2 separate regions of the Homo sapiens genome follow, and region 2 is linked to region 1. Evidence: promoter capture Hi-C in human tissues and cell types (Jung and others, 2019). All regions are on one chromosome and are shown on one strand. The core of a region is centred on a gene start or on the middle of the fragment in contact, and the rest is flanking DNA. Distances in the headings are between cores, read along the strand shown.

Region 1 (2,700 bases), core at 123-2,622:
AAAAATAGAATTACCATATGATCCAGCAATTCCACTTCTGGGTATACACCCAAAATAAGTGAAAACCAAGCCTCCAGTGGCTCAGCCTGTAATCCCAGCTCTTTGAAAGGCTGAGGTGGAAGGATTGCTTGAGCCCAGAAGTTCGAGGCTGTAGTGAGAGGTGATCATGCCACTGGACTCCAGCCTGGGAGACAGAGAGAGACCCTGTCTCTTAAAAATAATAATAATAGGCTGGGCACGGGGGTTCACACCTGTAATCTCAGCACTTTAGGAAGCTGAGGCGGGTGGATCGGCTGAGGTCAGGAGCTCGAGACCAGCCAGGCCAACACAGTGAAACCCCGTTTCTACTAAAAATACAAAAAATTAGCTGGGGGTGGTGGCGCACGCCTATAGTCCCAGCTACTTGGGAGGCTGAGGCAGGAGAATCGCTTGAACCTGGGAAGCAGAGGTTGCAGTGAGCTGAGATCGTGCCACTGCACTCCAGCCTGGGTGACAGAGTGGGACTCCATCTCAAATAAATAAATAAATAAAAAATAATAGATTCATGTTTCTTAAACACATTCTAGAACAGTTGTCCTTAAAAGCAAGCTTTACGGAAGGGAGAGAACTGAGTTTTGGCCAGCTGGCCACTTCCAACATCCATAAAGCCCCTTGAGCCCCAGGCGGACTCCTCTTCCCATATGGGTGCAACCCTCCATGGTGCCCCTACACCGTCATCCCAAGCAACTCCTAGGCTCATGCCCTGTGGGGAGTGCTCAGGATCCCCCAGAAATGCCCATTCCCCTCACATTACCTCCTTCCCTGGAACTATAACCTCCAGAAAAGGAAAATAAGGAGCTGGTGTCCCATTTCTGCAAAAAGCAGAAAATAACTGCCCTAACAGACCAGTGATGGGGCTAGACCCGGGTTTCTGCCACTCGGGCACTTGACACTGATGGCTTTCCCCAAAGGCAGGGACTGATGGCCGAATCCTGTCAAGGAATTGGCTCAAACTCGGACTGGATGAGTGAGGAGAGCCGAAGACAGTTTCCTCTGTCCTACGTGGGGGGTAAAGGAGGGACCCCTTTGATCCCTCAGCTCCACAGAGCCCAGGGCAACCAGGAGGCTCCCAGCCAGTCACCTGTCACCCGTCAGTGGAGCCCAGTGGGCCCGGGCCTCGAAAATGGCGCCCAGCCCCACACACCCCAGATGTGGGAACATTTTAGGGCTCCCTGGGCCGTGACCCTCACCCTAGCCCCAAGGCTTCTGCCAGGTTCTTCAGTCCAGCCAGTCGGACAAAAATGAGGGTGAAGAAGCCCCAGCTGAGAAGCCTAGCAATCTCCTCAGGCCCCTTCAGGCGTCGACAGATCGGTTTGGGCGACACCCCTCGATCTGCCTGGCGCGCGGCCTTTCCCGCCGATTCTCTGCGCATGCGCCGCCGCGCCCCCTCACTCTTTCCCTACAGCTGTAGCAAACACTGTAACCACTTCGCCCTCCCCAACTCCCTGCTCTCTCCCCACACGCACGCACGTGTGCACATCCTCTGACTGCTCACGCGCCACTCCCTTCCCCACCGCACCCCACCCCGACACCCACGATGCCACGCTTCAGGCGGGGCTCTAAGACAAGGCCTTTCTCTGGCACATGCACTTTGCTTCCACTTCATGTAAGGAAGAAGAGGGTAGGAAGTGGGAGAATCGTCTCATTCATTCCTTCTAGCCTTCAAACCTTTCGCATTTACTTAAAGATCGCCTACTAGAAACCAAACCTTAAATATGCGTCCAACAAGGCAGACAGGGACGTTGCCTTAAGAGAGCTCAGAAGCCTACTAGGGCTGCAGACAAGAATTAAAAACTCAAAGATTTACTTAGGTCATCCGTTCTCATACTTTCCGGTCTCTTAAGAATTATTAAGGACTCCAATAATTTATGAGTTACATTTATATGGGTTGTATGTTTATGTGAGTTGTATCTATCAATATTAAAATAAATTTCTAAAATAGTCATTGTTTAAAAATTCATTATGTGTCAAAATAACATTTTTATTTAAAATAACTATAATTTCTACTCCAAAAGAAATTTTGGCGCTGGGCGCGGTGGCTGACGCCTGTAATCCCAGCACTTTGGGAGGCCAAGGCGGGTGGATCACGAGGTCAGGAGTTCGAGACTAGCTTGGCCAACATGATGAAACCCCGTCTCTACTAAAAGTCAAAAAAAAAAAAAATTAGCCGGGCGTGGTGGCACACACCTGTAATCCCAGCTACTCGGGAGCCTGAGGCAGGAGAATCGTTGGAACCCAGGAGGCAGAGGTTGCAATGAGCCGAGATTTTGCCACTGCACTCCAGCCTAGACAACAGAGCAAGACTCCGTCTCAAAAAAAAAAAGGAAAAAAAAGAAAAAATTTGGGGAGAAGAATGGCATCATTTTACATTTTTGCAAATCTCTCTAATGTCTGGCTTCATAGAAGACAGCTGGATTCTCATATCTGCTTCTGCACTGAGTGTGTCAAAATAGCTCATGTCTTGTAGCTTCTGGCAAACATCACTATATTCAAAGAGGAAATGAAAGTGAAAGGCAAATAATATCTTAGTAGTATTATGAAAATAATGTTCACCTCATGGACCCCCAAAAGTGTTTCAAGAGCCCCCAGGAGTCCCTGAGCCACACTTTGAGAATGAAAGGCTTAAATTGTTATGATTGAACAAAGAGATGAAGAGGAAAT
Region 2 (2,700 bases), core at 193-2,692, 76 kb after region 1:
ACATAAGAGTGGACCAGTGCCTCCCTTCTCTGTGCCTCAGTTGCCTCACCTATAAAGATGAACAAAACAATGGCATCTGCCTCAGTGGTTTGTGTGAGACTTCAACCGAAGGATACTTGCAAAGTCTTGGGCACAAGGTAGGACACATAGGATGTGCTCACTAAAAGTTATCTAGCATTGTTTCTATATTAGTATTTTTTACAGTGAATAAAACAGCCAGGCACAGTGGCTCATGCCTGGAATCCCAGCACTTCGGGAGGCCTAGCTGGGTGGACCCCTTTAGCCTAGGAGTTCGAGACCATCCCGGGCAACATGGCAAAACCTTGCCTCTACAAAAAATAGAAAAATAAGCCAGGCATGGTAGTGTGCACCTGTAGTCCAGCCACTCAGGAGGCTGAGGTGGAAAGACTGCACGAGCCCGGGAGACAGAGGTTGCAGTGAGCCAAGATTGCATCATGGCATTCCAGCCTGGATGACAGAGCGAGAGCCTCTCAAAAAAAAAAAAAAAAAAAAAATTGGATTTGAAGTCAACCTTGAGTTCAAATCCCATCTCCGCCACTTACACAATAGGCAACCTTTAAGCATGTGACTTCTCCTTCTCAAGCCTTTACTTTTAGTTTCTTTTTTTTTTTTTTCTTTTTTTTTTTTTTGAGACAGAGTTTCATTCTTGTTGCCCAGGCTGGAGTGGAATGGCGCGATCTTACCTCATGGCAACCACCGTCTCCCGGTTCAAGTGATTCTTCTGCCTCAGCCTCCCAAGTAGCTGGGATTACAGGCATGTGCCACCACACCTGGCTAATTTTGTTTTTTTGTTGGTTGGTTGGTTTGTTTGTTTTAGTAGAGACGGGGTTTTTCCATGTTGGTCAGGCTGGTCTCAAACTCCCGACCTCAGGTGATCTGCCCACCTCAGCCTCCCAAAATGCTGGGATTACAGACATGAGCCACCACACCTGACCTACTTTTATTTTCAAAGAACTGGAAGAAGGGTATCTGTTCAGTAGGCTTGTTTTGAGGATTGACAGCATTTCACTGAGGGACTAGCAAACAATATGAAGAGACTGAGTTCAGCTTCACATTTAATTCAAGCCCCGTTCCATCCAAGACAGAAAAACATCATCTTAGTTCATTCTGGGCCCACCTAATTTTTTTTAGATTGAAACAAACTCATCAATTGACAATGAAACCTGTCACCACCCCCGACCTCAAGGTGGTATCTAAGTTGCAGGAGACTGATGCAGGAGCCTAGTGCTCTAGGAGGCTGCTGATCCTCACTCAATGTTTCTCCTCTCTGCTGTTCATGAGATTGATGGGTTTTGTCCAAGCGTTTGTCACCACTGTGTGCTGGCATCTACTGTGAGGCCCGCATTGCCTTTGGATCTCTGGACATACCATCTTCTTCATCTTCTGGTGGTGATCCCTTATCTGGGCTGGGACTCTTACTCCACCACTTCCACACCCTTCCAGAGCCAGGGAGGTGATTTGGCTACTTTCCTGTGAAAGGGAAGAGGCTGGGGTCACTGCCCAAAGCCCCTGCCTCATTTCCCCAGGCCAGGGTGGGTGCTCATGGTGGGGAGATGTGGCTTCTCTGGGGAAAGAGAAACAGGAGAGAGATTCCTCTGTTCTCCCTGAGCTGTTAGCAAAGTCCCTGTCCGTCACTCATTTCCCTGAAGGATCCCAAACCCCACCCAGGCCTTGACAGACTGGAGGACACAGGGCTGGGGTGGGCAGAGGTCTGGAGAGGACCCACCAGTGAGGCCTCTTTGCTTTCACAAGAAAGTAGCATCTCTATTATTCTCACACCGTGATGATTCTGAGAGTGCTCTGGGAAGTACACGCAAGGCCTCTCAGATCACAAGACTTCCAGGGCTCTGCGGTTCTCCATCCATACCCTCCACCCCTCATAGCTAGCCCTGGGTTAGGGGAAAACTCTGGGCTCATTTTCAGCCTATTCTCTTCTCTGTCTGTCCTGCATTCCTCCCCCAGCTCTAAGGATCTCTGCCTAGTCCAGACAGATCATGTATTCCCAAAAAATATCTTTGTCCTACATGTGCAGTGTTTTTTACACTGAAATCCAAAATCTTTCTGCTATTTTCTGGCTCTTCCATGAAAACTCACCCCCTTGGGGCAATGGGAATCTCACAGCAGGATGGCTGTACCATGTGAGACATGGAATGCAGCAGGATGTGACAGTTTCTTTCAGAACATCCCTTTTTAAGAATGAAAAAGTTGCCAGGCGCAGTGGCTCACGCCTGTAATCCCAGCACTTTGGGAGGCCGAGGTGGGTGGATCACCTGAGATCAGGAGTTCGAGACCAGCCTGGCCAACACGGTGAAGCCCCATCTCTACTAAAAATAAAAAAATCAGCCGGGTGTGGTGGCACACACCTGTAATCCCAGCTACTCGGGAGGCTGAGGCAGGAGAATCGCTTGAACCCAGGAGGCAGAGGTTGCAGTGAGCCAAGATGGTACCAGTGTACTCCAGTCTGGGCGACAGAGCAAGACTCAGTCTCAAAAAAAAAAGGAAAAGAAAAACTTTCCGGCTGGGCATGGTGGCTCACACCTGTAATCCCAACACTTTGGGAGGCCAAAGCAAGATTGCCTAGGCCAGGAGTTCGAGACCAACCTAGGCAACATAGTGAGAGCCCGTCTCTATAAAACAAAAAAAAACAAAAAAAGTAAATAAAAGAATGAAAGGCCAGGC

Evidence for each region. The method cuts DNA at HindIII sites, captures the fragments that hold promoters and counts their contacts. A contact is called where the count stands out against the background at its distance.
Region 2: a fragment that was not itself captured here is called in contact with the fragment with the promoter of SLC6A16 in region 1 in 2 of the 25 tissues and cell types used here (bladder and heart right ventricle).

What each region holds. Positions count from the first base shown.
Region 1 is chr19:49,323,819-49,326,518 of GRCh38, forward strand. It overlaps SLC6A16 (solute carrier family 6 member 16), which reads right to left and starts at 1,373. Exons shown (of 12, transcript NM_014037.3): 1 at 1,230-1,373. RefSeq lists an enhancer at 2,537-2,686. The HindIII fragment of the contact is 19,669 bases long and covers 28-2,700 here.
Region 2 is chr19:49,399,733-49,402,432 of GRCh38, forward strand. The region is part of intron 9 of KASH5 (KASH domain containing 5); the gene reads left to right. Among named protein-coding and RNA genes, the nearest start is that of KASH5, 13 kb to the left of the region's middle. The HindIII fragment of the contact is 8,336 bases long and covers 1-2,700 here.